Linked DNA regions of Homo sapiens: region 1 is linked to region 2. The links are contacts of gene promoters, found by promoter capture Hi-C in blood cells and fetal thymus (Javierre and others, 2016). All regions are on one chromosome and are shown on one strand. The core of a region is centred on a gene start or on the middle of the fragment in contact, and the rest is flanking DNA. Distances in the headings are between cores, read along the strand shown. Region 1 holds the start of MRPS33 (mitochondrial ribosomal protein S33). Region 2 holds the start of DENND11 (DENN domain containing 11).

Evidence for each region. The method cuts DNA at HindIII sites, captures the fragments that hold promoters and counts their contacts. A CHiCAGO score of 5 or more calls a contact.
Region 1: a contact is called between a fragment that was not itself captured here and the fragment with the promoter of DENND11 in region 2, in 1 of 17 cell types (total B cells). The highest score is 5.9, in total B cells.

Annotation. Positions count from the first base shown.
Region 1 is chr7:141,011,770-141,018,602 of GRCh38, forward strand. It overlaps MRPS33 (mitochondrial ribosomal protein S33), which reads right to left and starts at 3,183. Exons shown (of 3, transcript NM_053035.3): 1 at 3,142-3,183. RefSeq lists enhancers at 1,622-1,691, 2,834-3,479, 2,942-2,991, 3,512-3,711 and a silencer at 3,056-3,364. The HindIII fragment of the contact is 2,107 bases long and covers 1,142-3,248 here.
Region 2 is chr7:141,699,459-141,707,056 of GRCh38, forward strand. DENND11 (DENN domain containing 11) reads right to left here and starts at 2,708. Exons shown (of 9, transcript NM_001080392.2): 1 at 2,428-2,708. The coding sequence starts at 2,695. It overlaps WEE2-AS1 (WEE2 antisense RNA 1), which reads right to left. Exons shown (of 4, transcript NR_199841.1): 4 at 4,545-6,299. The HindIII fragment of the contact is 7,386 bases long and covers 1-6,523 here.

The DNA of each region.
Region 1 (6,833 bases), core at 945-3,444, 690 kb before region 2:
GTGCCAAGTGAATTTCAAAATAGTTCTTGTAAGAAAACAAACCGTGTTTAAATTAAGGAAGTTTTAATGCCTGTTTCAAGATCCATTAACAGAGGAGGCTGGGCATGGTAGCTCATGCCTATAATCCCAGTACTTTGAGAGGCTGAGGTGGGAGGATCGCTTGAGGTCAGGACTTCAAGACCAGCCCAGGCAACATGGAGAAATCTTGTTTTTACAGAAAAAAAAACAAAAAACAAAAGAAAATAAGAAAATTAGTCTGCTATGGTAGTGCACACCTGTAGTTCCAGCTACTCGTGGAGGCTGAGGAGGGGGACATCACTTGAGCACAGGAGTTTGAGGTTACACTAAGTTATGACTGCACTACTGTACTCTATAGCCTGAGTGACAGAGCAAGATTGTGTGTCAAAAAAAAAAAAAAAAAAAAAGCAGAGGCTGATCTCAAACCACTGTCAACCTCAAAACCATTCAGAACACCAACCAAGCAATTTTGGGTCAATAGTGCCACCTGAAGGCTGGCAACGGTAGAACTGTCAGATCCAACGTCCACCCCTCCCTCCCCACCATCTGCAGATCACCTACAAGCCTGTTCTTCCTTTTCCATTCAGCATTCTCAGTTTCCTGATTCACTTCTTTGCCAACTCTGGTTGGGGGTGGGGTTGTTAGGACTAGGGTTATAGTCTCAAGGTGAAAAAAATTCATTTAGCAGTTTAATGTATAAACAAATCAGTGCCATAAACCTCTAAAAAGCCTTGCAAATGTCCAGAGTCACCTAGTTTCTTTGCATGCTTTTTCTCTTCCTTTGCCCTTTAAAGTTACCTTTTTCCAAACATTAGATTAAAAAACAATAGTTGCTTCATCAACTTTGCTTTGTTTGCTTAATTACCATTGTGGCATCAGAATATATTTCTGCTGTAATTGCACAGTATTTCCACAGTTAGTTATCTGTAAGCTGGTATGGGAACTATCAGTTTGTTACAGTGTTTTCAGGAAAATCTGTTCTGAATTCCAAGTCCCTTTATTTGTCAATGAAGAGGCAACAGGGATTCCTGAGGCCTAGGTTTGACTACTGGCTCTGTCACTTAATCCTTGGGTTATTGTGAACAGTTACTCATCTTCTCTGAGTCTCCTTTTCTGAAAACAAAGCTTGCATGACTAGTGCGAAAATGAGTAACAGTGGCACTGAGTAGTAAATGGTAACTTACAAAAAAGAACGAGCCCAGATCTGTAAGTTTGGTTTTCATATATTCTACATAGACACATTTGTTTATTCCTTGTTCTTAATCATGTTTAAGAAAAAAAAAAAAAGAGAGAGAGACAGACAGATAGATACTCCATATAGTAAAAACTTTGTGCCTCCCTGGAATGATGACCTCATTTACAAAGACTGACAGCCAGAGAAACATAGGGAGAGGACCAGCACCTTGATAACTTGACAAGATAGCCAGGAGGAGGAAGGGACTCAGTAGGACAGTAGTCACTGAAGCCATCACAGGATGCTGCTGTTATGTCCATGCCCATTTTGGAATGTGGCAAATTACTGGGATACATAACTTGTAAGTAAAAAGGTCACACTAGAATAGGCTGGAACATGGTTATATCATAAAATCCAAGTCCTAAAGTTTTATGACAGAGAAAGGGAATAAGCCTTTTCAAACCTGAATCCCTTACTAGAAACAAAGGCCCACTTGCTAAACAGGAGGAAACTGAAAGTGGTTTTAACAATTACCAATGACACTGCTTTGTTGTTTCCTTCCACAGTGCACAGACACATGTCTCTCACGAAGAATAACACGGGAGCTTTTCTTACAACGTGCATGTCAATTACATTTTGATTCACATGAAACCATTCTCGGGGAGTACAAGTCACTTTAAGTGTTACCTTTCTTTAAATGTGAACTAAAGAAAACTGTACTCTCATGAAAAAAGTTAACTGGAGCTGAAAATGCTAAGCAAAAACAAATTACTCAAATGTGCTGAGCAAAACAAATTAAGCCCACATGAGAAGAAAATTCCCATATTTTTACTTTGGCATAACAGGGCAAACTTCTTTGATCTTTTTGATAGGTCTGATGCATTTAAAAGATTATTTCAATAAGTGGCTTTGTATTAGGTTTGCCTTTTCTCTTTGAAAGGTAAAGATGAAGTGCAAGAGTTCTTAACCGGGATGTGCTTCAGCGTTTTGAAAACAGTGGAAGTGTACATCTGTATGCCGATATGTGTATGTATGTGTGTGTGTAAATTGTTCTGGGAGAGAGCTTTCTCCAGTTTCCCAAAAACCATTGGTTAGCAGAACGCACCAGCTGCAGAATAAAAAAGCTGGTTGGAATCTCGCCTCTGCCTTTTAATGGCCACGTCGTTTTTGTAATGGTGCTTATTCTCTGCCAGGTTCTCTCATCGACTACACGAGGACAGTCATACTATCTGCGATGTGAAGCTAATATGCAAAATTCACGGCACAGTGCCCACCCTAATAACCATCAGGATCCAAGGAATTCACATACAGTGTACACACGTTGTCATAGAAACAATCTAAACATAAAAACAATCTCAACAGAATGCTTAAAAACAAAAAAACCCGGTACCGATTATTTTACGGAGTCATAGAGGCATCAACGGCACTGAAAATGTATTAGCTGCATTCAGTTCATCAAGAACAATCTTCAACTCCCTCCACCTGACTCGATCATGCCTGACTGTGATGGAAACTGTAGTATTGTCAAGTCAACCGATGTTTGACTCGGGAGCGCATTTCGCAAATATTTTTCTTAAATATCACCTTACCGTATTTTTCTTAAGGTGGTTACAAAATTAATCTGCAGCCCACCACCCAAAGCTACAGTGCCGAAGGCCGTGTGATGAGCAGAGAAACTGAGCCTTCTACTGTTAACCAATATGGAAGAGAGTAATTGCGCCTGAGAGGAAATTACGGCAGCGGAAACGCGGGTATTCTACGTTTAAGAAATCCCCCAACTGAGGCAGAAAAAGGCCAAGTTATTTGTGTGATGCACGTGAACCGCCCGAGCTGGTCACTAATGAAGTGGATTCGCCCTATTCCTGGCGACTCTACAAGGTTGGAGACCCCCGTAGACTTCGCAGCCATCGCCCCTTGCTGCAGACCCCCAAAGTCACCGACAGCCTTACCTAGACCTGACCTTCCTCACCCACGCGCCCTCGTCCCGGAAGGCCCGCCCTCTACCCGGCTCCAAGCTCGCGCAGGCAACTATTACGGGGAGCAGTAGAGAAACGGAAGCTTGGCAGCTAGAGCGGAGCCCTAGTGAACGACCCGGAGTTACTGGCTCCCCCTCCTGAGGCCTCCGAGGTGTACCTGGCGCCTGCGCAGTAAGGCTAGCGCCGCCGCCTGTGCGGAGGACCCGGGGAGGTGGTGGGCTGGGGAGAGTTAGAAAGGTCTGGCTCTCCTGGAAGGGCATGCACGGTTCGGTAGTATGTTTTGGTGGGAATGGCTACAGACCTGCCTCCAAAAGCTCTGAAGCAATGGCGATGCGTGTGCCGTGTGGTCTTTCTGACCGACTTGCGGCGCCATCCCCCTCCCCTTCCATCTATCTGCTCATCTTCTAATAGTTAATTAGGATCCCTAGCTGCAAGCCTTCCTTGCTACTGGGTTAGGAGCGCTTTCCCCCATTGACCCAGGAGCTTCTTCAGGGAGTAGGGGATGGAACGTTTGTCTCCTCAGTAGTTATCTTAGACCTCGCTGGGCAGATAGTAGAAAGCATTGTGAGTATTTCACCCCATACTAAATCTGTTTTCAAGCAAGCCACATCCCATAGGCATTGTATGCAGCACTTACTCAATGTTTGATAGTTTGGGTGAGGAAACTGTACTCGTTTTCTGAGTATCGTTCAAGGCATTTTATAAATATTTCAAAATGTACCCTGGAATTAATATCGGTAGTGAGTTGCCTACCTAGTGGGTATTGTATTTACACCCTCTTTCCTCCTACAGAATTTACTTTTAAGTTAGAATTTGACGTCTAATCAATCTATGCTATAGGATTTGCTTTTATCAAGTTAAGTTTTGACATGTTATCAGCCTTATATGATATAGTAAACAGCCTTATAAAGTTGGGTCTAGTGACTACATTTAAGTTTACAAAGGGGTAATGAGTATCCTATACATGGCTACAGTCCAGAAAAGAAGTCCTAAGGAGCGAAACTCCTGGGAGAAATTTCGTCTTGTCTTTTGTACTTGTTTCTGTGGAGTTGGCTTGTTTTTATGTAATGGCCACTGAATCATATAAACAAGAAGACTTCCTTTACGTGTAAGCTGCTGGTTTAAAGCCAAATTTTAATTGGCTCGAGGCAAGAGCTATATATATGTGTGTGTATATATATATATACACACACATATATATATTTTTTGCATAAACCTTGTTGGCTTCGTTTTGTATATCCTTCCTGTTTTTTCCTTTTCACGTATGAATTATTGGTGTTATCAATGTTTTGTGAATTACTATAAGCTACCATAAATCTTTCTTGAAACATAGCTAGGTATATAGAGTTTCAGGTGACTGTTTAGGTACTTTGCACTATCACTTTTATTAAGTCAATTTCATGGGGGTTCATATTAGTTTCCTGAGGCTGCTATAATAAAATACCACAAACTTGGTGTTGTAGAGCAACTGAAATTTATTATCTTACAGTTCTAGAGGCCATAAATTCAAAATCAGCATCACTGGGCCAAAATCAAGATGTTGACAGGGCTGTGTTCCCTCCAGAGACTCTAGGGGAGAATCAGTTCTTTGACTCTTCCAGCTTCTGGTGGCTGCTGGCATTCATTGGCTTGTGGCCACATCACTTTAGACTTCAAGGCCAACATCTTCACATCTCTGCTCCCTTTTCACATTGCCTTCACTATGTGTGTCAGACTTCCCATTGCCTCCCTTTTAGGAATGTGTAATTGCATTTAAGGCCCATGGAGCTAATCCAAAATACTCTCTCAATCTGAAGATCCTTAATTTAGTCACATCTTCAAAGGCCTTTTCCCCGTATCTGGTAACATTTGCAGGTCCCAGGGATTAGACTCTGTTATCTTTGGGGAACAGTTTTAGCCTACCACAGGATTAGAAGGAGTAAGCCATTGAAATTGGCCAATCAGAGACTGTTACTTATCAATAGGAAAGTTGGAATATTAGGGATGGAAAAATGAAATGAATAGAATAAAATTGAACCTCCTATGGATATTGACTTCACCAGACCTTGGCTTACCCATTTACACCGCCAAGATAATGCAGTTTTAAGAGCACTTTTTATAATCAGAGATTGCTCTATAAATCAGATATTTCCTTATATATTTCTATTTTCTGTAGTCCTGTGTTTTCCAATTGTGTGCTGTGAATCATTAGTTGGCTGTGAAATCAATTTAGTGAATAGAGACCAGCATTAAAAGAAAGACATTAGGATAAAAAATATCTAAATGCATCACATGTAGTAGGGGTAATTATTGTTTCATGAAACAATATGTATATGTGCATTGGATCATAATATAAATATATTTCTTGCTGTAGGTTGTGGTAAAATGGAAAGCCTCCACTTTAAGTGATTTCATTATTCATCATACTCTTTGGCAAATGTTCTTTGTCATTAGGCAGGGCAAGAATTAAAGCTACATCAACTTAAAGTTCTTATGGTGTGGCATAGTCCAAGGGGCAGGGGAATATTTATTGCTTTAAGTAAATCAATTTACAGATACCGTATTTTCATAAGTATTCTTTCTTAGCATCATGTAGGTTCTTTTTTACATCTGCATTTACAGTAGTTCTTGGACCTTACAAAAGAAAGGTATATCCATCACTGAAGGTGTGAGGGATATACCTTCCAGGATGACAGATGAAAGGAAGATTCAAAATGTTTTGGAGGAAGCTTCCTCTAATGATCAATCAAGGCACCATCAACCCTTCTTAGGCTTCATGTCTTTTCCTATCTTACATATATTCCACTTAAGGGTGAAGTACGGCTGTCAGAAATATGGTAATTGGTTTGTTGTGATTTTCTGAAATCAGATATACTGTGTGAATGTTAGTGGTAAGAGTGACAGTAATTTTCCTTTAACCATCAGATGTCTTCCATCCTCTGTTGAAAAGTGCAGTGTTTTTGAAGGAGAATCTGGTAAGAGCAGAGCAAAGCAGCACTGAAGAAAGTATCGAAGCCAATTTTTTTTCCCGTATATTTAAACCTAAGCAATTCTTTTCAGCTATTCTCAGTACTTCTCCATAGGATATAGCATTATCTGGAAAGAAAAGCAACTCTGAACAGCTGAAGTAGTAGAGCTTTGTGACAGATTTTTTTTTTTTTTTTTTTTTTGGAGAGAGTCTCACTCTGTTGCCCAGGCTGGAGTGCAGTGGCATGATCTCGGCTCACTGCAACCTTCGTCTCCTGGGTCCAAGCAATTCTTGTGCCTCAGCCTCCTGAATAGCTGGGATTACAGACACCTGCCACCACGCCCAGCTAATTTTTGTATTTTTAGTAGAGACAGAATTTTGCCATGTTGGCCAGGCTGGTCTTAAACTCCTGACCTTAGGTGATCCACCTGCCTCCATCTTCCAAAGTGCTGGGATTACAGATGGGAGCCATCGCCCCTGGCCGTGACACTGATCATTATAAATATCATACAGATCATTTTCAGGTACCTTCATATTTTTCACATTGCACTGGAATAAACTGTGCAAAAGTCATACATAATTTTATTTTAGATTTGGTGTGTGTTGTTCAATGAATGTGAAAATGTATTGTGATAATCACTGATACAGTTCACCAAATCTTTTCCATTTCCTTCCACTTTGGCTAGATTGTATTTCATGGGAATTCTGAGATTGGTTA
Region 2 (7,598 bases), core at 1,458-3,957:
ACAGGAAGCAAAGTGCCATTTAGGACTAGGATAGATGACAAAAGAGACAAACACATTTATGGTCAGTAAAGGACTGCTTTCCCCCCACAAAAAAACACAAAAAAAACACAAGTTACAAGTGCTCCCTCTCACACTGCGCTCTCTCTTCCTCCCTCCTTTCTCCTCCATCCCTGGATAAGTAAGGATCAGGTGCCAGGGAGCAGGGGTTCAGGCAGCATAGTATACTAGAAAGACAATGGGACTTACAGTCAAGTATTTATTGGCTACTTAATATTCCCAAATTACCTAACCATCCCTGGTATGTTCCCTCATTTACAAATTGGGTATAAATGATCATCAAATTACAGAGCAGTGATCAGAATAAATCAAACAGCATTATAGTAAAATGCCTGCACAAAATGTCTAAATGTGTTACAATCCCTTCTTTGCACAGTAGCCTTAGTCTGAAAACCATCACTCACACACACACACACACACACACACACTCCGTATACACAAATTCACAAAGCCATGCTCACTGCCTGTGACTGACAAGGAATGGGGGCAGGTACTAGCCCTCTGGCGCTTTTATCAATTGATAGATATCAATTGGCCAATATCAATAATTGATCAATTATCAGTATTATCCACCCTATCTGTCTGTAATTAGTATAAAACTTCTTTTCTCTTTCCCTTCCCTAAGACTCTACCACTGGAGCTACCAATACTAAATCAGACCGTGTGAATGTGCCCTTTCTATTCCTTCTAGTTACTCTGAAATATTTCCCAGGATAAGTCAAATGCTGGTAGCTGTTTACCTGTAAATGATGGGGTACAGTATAAGCAATATGATTAGTTACAAAGTATTGGTTTTTGTCTAGCATTACGGGTAACTTTGGTCAAAAAAGACCAATACTTTTCAAACTACTGGTATCTAGGAATCTCAAATGCGAGTCAACCAGCATGTGTGATGAACACTTAAAAAAAAGAGAAAAGAGCCACTGCATTCCAGCCTAGGCGACAGAGTGAGACACTGTCTGAAAAAAAAAAAAAAGAGAGAGAAAAAAGAATGCATTACATGTAGAAGGAGTCAGCACTACTTCATGAAATGTCTATTTCAGTTACATAAGTACTGTACGTGTATGTGAGCATATTGGTTGTGATGTAAAATTAACTTCACATGATAGATCAGTCAAAAGAGTTTGAAAGCCATGGAATGTGGCAAAGAAACAAGCAGAAGTCACAAAGGCCTGAATTGTCCCCACAAACTCTGTCCCTGCAAATGGAGCTCCACAGTGAATCCCACATTCTTCCTGTGTCCTACAGCTGAGAACCCCAAAATTACCGGCCTGGAACCCATCATCAGCTGCCATACCAGATTCCCCTTCTCCAGATCCTAACCCCTTTTTTTCTCCACTCCATCCCACCTCATCCCAGAAAGCAGCCAATATTTTCCCGCACGAACAGGCACTCCACACTCCAGCAGCTGCCCTGGAGACATTGACAGTCACACCTGGGTTTCCTTAAGCCCTGACACCACGACTCCTGCGATGACACCTCCTTCCCCCAACCCCGAACAGCAGAGCCACTCTCAGAGTCAGAAGTCCCTAGCTGACCCTCCAAGGCTTCCTGGGCGCGCAGGGTCGTTCTTCCACCTTCTGTCCCCCGTGGACTCTCACCTGGAAAACGCACACCCCCCTGCCGGGTGGTTAGGCTAAGATTATGTGGGATAAGACTTTAATTCTCCAAGCATCTCCGAAAGACAGCCTATCCGGGGAGGCTTCTCCTTTAATCAGCCTTCAGCTGAATCCCTCAGCCCCATCCCTTAATGCTCCCGGCGTTAATTCCTCAAAATAATGCAGTCAGAGAAAGTGAACTTGGCCGCTAGGAAAGTTACCCCAGAGGAAGCGACGGGGAGCTAGGGCGAGCGGGGAGCGGGGGACGGGGTGGGGGGCGAGCGGGGAGCGGGGGACGGGGTGGGGGGCGAGCGGGGAGCGGGGGACGGGATGGGGGGCGAGCGGGGAGCTCAGGGCGCTCGCCCGGGGGGTTTCCTCCGCACAACGTGAAAAATCTTCTAGCCCCCAAGAAAAGAAAACAAAACCCAACGTGGCCACAAACCGGATGCCCTGTCACTGAAGTGCGAACACCACTGTGGGGCTGGGACTCAGAGGAGAGGAGGGGAGGGGAGAGGAGGTCGGCGGGGCTGGAACAAAGCCCTCGGGGCCGCTCCGAGAGGCCGCGCGCCAGCACCCAGCTGCGCCCCGAGGGAGAGAGCTGAGGACTGGCCGACCCCCGCCCTTCCCCAAGCCCGGGAGCCCGGGGCCGGCCCTGGTGCGGGGTGCGGGGCCGGGAGGGCAGGTGCGCGCGCAGCGAGCCCCTCCCCCGCGCCCCCAAAGCTCGGGGGCACCCCGACCCTCCCCACGCGCCTGGCCCCGGCGCGGCCCTCACCCGAGCGGGGGTCGAAGGTGACCACGAACACGGCCACCACCTGGTCCTCCTCCACGTCGCCCAGCTCCAGGCGCCCGGGCTGCAGCAGCACCTCCGGGGCGGCCGGCTCCTCGGGCTCCCGCCTCCGGGGCGGCTCCGCGGCCGGCCGGGCGCCCCCGCCGCCGCCCCGGCCCCAGCCTCCCGCCTGCGGCTGCGGGGCCTGCGGCAGGGAGACGGCGGGGCCCTCGGCCCAGCGCAGCAGCGGCGCCGCGTCTCCCTGCTCCACCATGGCTAGGCGAGGCGGAGCCGCGGGCGCGAGGGGCGGGGCGGGCGGGCTGCGGGAACCCCCCTCGCCTGGCCGCGCCAACGCCGCCGCCGCCCGCCGGGTCTGGCGCTGCCCGGGGCCCCGCCGCGGAGGCGCCTTTCCCACGGAGCCAGAGCAGGCGTCCGCGGAGCCGGCTTCGGGAACCGCGAGCCTATTCGGAGGCGCCCGTGTGCACGTCCGTGTGTGGGACGCGTGCGGCCGGAACGTTCATCCTTGCGTCCATACACCTGTGTGCGGGTGGAGGTGCCTTCTCACCTAGGGTTCCGTGGTATAGCTACCACTGTGAGTTTTTATGTCACCATTATTTTTTAAAGTCCGCTGGTCCTGTGGACCGTGACAGATATGTATTACATAATCCTGGATGTGTGGCAGAAGCTGCTTCTAAGCAGAGGAGTGAAGCAGAGGTGCTCTGGCTACCCAGGTGTTTGCAATATACTCATCAATAAACACTGAAAAGGCCATAGGGTTAAAGTTTGGGAATTTTGTTCTTCCTTTTATATTACAAACTGATTAGGATGGAGATTATGAGTTTATTTCCTGGTATATATACAACTTGAGGGTATTAAATTAGGAGGTGCTGGAGCATTTGTGGGACGAGGGATATTCCCTCAGAAGATCAGGAAAAGGAAGTTGCTCAGGGGAGAAAGAGGAAAGTCAGCTCTAAAGCTGATGGCTTTGGAAATGGATTAGGGGTTTTCTGTGAACCCCCATTTTATATTTAAAAATAAATTTTACATGCCTCAATCCTTGAGGTAAATCTAGCAGCTAAGTAACTCTTTAAGAGGAGATGTGTATAAAAATAGGAATAGCTATTAAAATAGAAAGAAGGAGGTGGCAAGAGAAGGAGGTACACAGTTCATCCAGGGTTCAGCAAGGCTCCATGGTTTGCCTGTTCGCAAAAGGACCCAGTAGAGCTATGTGCTGGGTGCTACTCCACGGGATGTTTATGAACCTCCGTGTCCTACACGTCAGCACTGCAATGATAATGTGATTTAACCCCTATCCCTAAGAAGATAATCAATGACTGCCCTAGGCTGCCACTTCTAATCTAAAATCTATGATATAACAATAAAGAATGTACTTATGCAGCATTTTACCCCCAAGAACAGGGTCTACTTTCATTATTTACATATTTAGTTCAGCCTTTCCTGAAAGGTAAAACTTCAGCATAGGAATCTCTTGATTGGATCAGAAGGATGAAGAAGTAGCTGTGGATGTTTGACCAAGTTACTGATGACCTCCAGAGCTCATCCCTTGGAGCACTGACAGCAAATAAGTCAAGACGGAGCACAGTAGAGATCCATCTCTGAGAATGTCTCCTCCATACCTGCTCATTTCTTCCCAGTGAGGCACTGTGTGTGTGTGTGTGTGTGTGTGTATGTATGTATGTGATGTGGGAGAGGCAGAAACAGACATACACACATACATACACACACAGAGACAGACAGAGAGAGAGAGAGATCTTATTTCTGTGGCCGGGGGCGGTGGGGCTGGCCTTGGTGCAGGTCACACAGGTGACCCATTACCTGTTCTAATCTTAGGGACTCCGGGAATGACCACAGCCCAACTGTGACTAACAGAGAAAAGGTCAGACTAGTGGGTCTGTACCATCGTTTTAAAATGTCTGCTCCTTAAAGTATCGGTAGGATATCATCAATCTCTAAATTACTGGGACATCAAATCAGAGATCTATTCCTATTCTAAGTATGCTATGTGTTGTGTGTGTAGACAAGTGGTATGTTTCTACTGTCACAGCTATTTTGATGAATAATCTCTAGTTCTAGCAAATGGGAAACTTTGGCAAGAGAAGCAATTTGTTAAAATCTGTTTGATTTATTCATCAGATAGATTTATAGTAGATTTCAAATTAATAGAATAACCTAGGGGTTTTTATTAATGGCACTAAAGTATCCATGGGTAAAATATGTTGTCACTGATTTGCTTCACAATACCCCAGCACTCACCCTCAATGAAGTTGCAGTTATGAACTAAACAAGACTGTAAAGCCATACATAATTTTTGAAGCTAGGTTATGGATACATAAGGACTCATTATAGTATTTTCTCTATTTTTGGTATGTTTGAACATTTCCATGAGAAAAAGTTAAACAAAAAGGAGGAAAGGGTTAATAACAGACTCCTAGGCTTTAAAGCAGCCTCCAGGCTTTATTTACTTAGCCCGTAATCCTTCCTTGGAATTCTGTTGTGCCGGCAGTGCCACCCATGAGATACAATTTTATGAGCACTTTGAAATGAGAAATGTGATGGGCAAATATCAAGTATTGTTAATGATTTATGTAATTATCATTGGATTCATCGCAGCTGACAAGTGGCTGCTTCTGTACACTCTCTCAGCAGGCAGGGAGGAGATTAGAAGAAGGTCCCCCTTCAAGGTTGCTGGCTTTGCTGACCATCCTTGTCATAGGAACAGAGCTGTGAGGAGTCAGGAGCACTGGAGACCCCTAGTTTCAATGGATTCACATCCACCGCAGCGGCCCCAATCTGGACCTGGTCAGTGTTGCCGCTGCTGATGGATTTGTCCAGGGAGCAGGAGAACATACACTGGTGATTAAAATAATGTTTTCTCTAAGTTACTGCAAACTTTCTCCTGTGTAGTTGAGGCAACACTTCCAGTTGTGGTGAGAGATTGAACAAAAGAAAAAGCATACAATGTTAAAGCTGGCAGGACCTTAAAGACACTGCCTAGCCCTCTCACTCAGCAGTGAGTCGTAGATGATTCCTCCAGATCTTGACGAGGCCCACAGGCCCTTGTTTAAGAACGTCGCTTGCTGCTTTGCTGCTTCTATGGGGCACATTCTGGTGATAAAGGCCAGCTGTTTTTCTCCACCAGCATGGAGTTCTCTCAACTTTGTTTCTGGTTTTTAGAGTCCCTGGCCAATTGTCTGGAGACCCAGAGAGCCACTGTTAGTCTAAGGTCGCTTCATAAATAAGGGTAATCCCGGTCCTGGATTCTGCCAGACTCCTAGAAAGACTGACAGTGAAAGTGTCATTTCTTGCTTGGGAAACCATACTTCACAATGGTTTTCAATAGGGCAGACCCATTAAATACATAAGAATCCAACAACACTCTTTTTTCAGAGTCGGAATGACTCAGTTCTAATTCAGTCTTAAATAAATAATGTGCTGGACCTTTACTTAGGCCTGTTTAAGTGTTTTTTACAATTCTCTCTCCTGACTTGGGGGACAATTAGGCCAGCATGTTCTTCCTTGGAGCGACAAACTCTCAAATAGCTCATTTTCCATGGCCTTAGCTTTACTTTGACAAAGGAACAGTCTAACCAGGAAGGTGAATAAAAGTTTCCACGTCTTGCAAATTTGAATAGATAGATTTTCCTGCTTCTGTTCTTCCCATCAACATTTCATAGGCCTCAGAACCAAGTCTGGTCAGAGTGGAGTCTAGGTGCTTCCTTATCACTCAGCAGTGTGTCTGCAAGGGGAGAACTTCCCTCAAGCACACAGTTGAGGGAACTCAGCCCTGAGATGCAAGGCTGCCCGCTTCTTGCACATCTTACTCCTGGGAACTTCGCTTTCCCCCTGTGCAGCAACTCCTGACACATTAAGAAAAAAATTCAAATTTTTTTTAAAAAGTCAAATATGGAGTATTTTAAACATGATTGAAATATATTAATTTATTTCCCCAAATTCATCCAAAAACAATTTATTGAACACCTACTATATGTTAGGCATTAAGGGGGAAACCCTCCCCTTTTCCTCTTATTGCCACAGATTACATGGGTCCCCCTTTTGACACATCATCTCAACTATCACCTGAAGCTTTATGCTGGGATGGATGCCTGTGGGATTAACATATACTGAAGCAGAGATGAAATTTTTCATAATGGAAAGAGGCTAAAAATGAAGAAAAGGCTACAATGTGACCAAAAAAATAGTGAGGCCATGGGCCAGAGGCCATAGGTAGCACCTCTAGGGATTCCCTTGGGTCATCCAGATCAGCAACTATGCAATTCTTATTATTTAGTTGTCCAAATTTGGGATATCTTTTTTGTACTCATTGTTACACCTTTCTTATTCTGAAGACTTAGCCACAATCATTATCTTCTGAGTAACAATACATGAAAAGGTGAATGGTGCAAGTTTCTAACAGTATTACTGCCGATAACATAAGACCTCAACCATTGCAATGGCATAGCTGCCTCCCTAGGCAAACAATGTAGTCATAAATAAGGGTAATCAAGAATTATAGCAAGGGAGAGAGAAAAAGCAGCAGGTGATAGAAAAAAAAAAAGAAAACCTGGTCTACTTGGGTAATACCTAATAAACCAGCCCCTGTGCCCTGTCTACAGGACAATAATATAGCCAGTGTTTTGAGTCAGTCCTGTTTTACTGAGAGCAAAGCCAGCCTCTAGCTGCCTGGAGAGGCAGGAATGACAAGCCATGGCATGTGAGGGGAAATTCATCAACACCAAGGCTATAGAAAAGAAATCTATCATCTGGCTTGCTGATTTGTAAACAAGACACTCCTAGGCTGAGAATCCCAGTTGATAATAATTGCATTACTGGTAACCTATGAGTTCTCCTTTTTCTTTGATGATTCTGTTTTTACTGGCCCCTGTAGGATACTGAATCTCTGACAAAGGTGGGCAGTGAGTTACTGCATTTTGTGAGCAATATTTTACCCCCTGTTGAATTATCTGGGATAGTTTGTGTGGGTGGGAGGCTGTAGGGAAGGGCCAAGGAAGGATGAATTGGTGTGCCCACCTACAAAGGGCTGGAGCATGAGAAGGCTTTGAGCTGAAAAAACACTTTGAAGTCTCCCCAGTTAGTTTTCATTTGGATTACCCTCCTCAGGAGTTCTGGCTGGGAATGGGGAAGGAATTAGGAGAAAG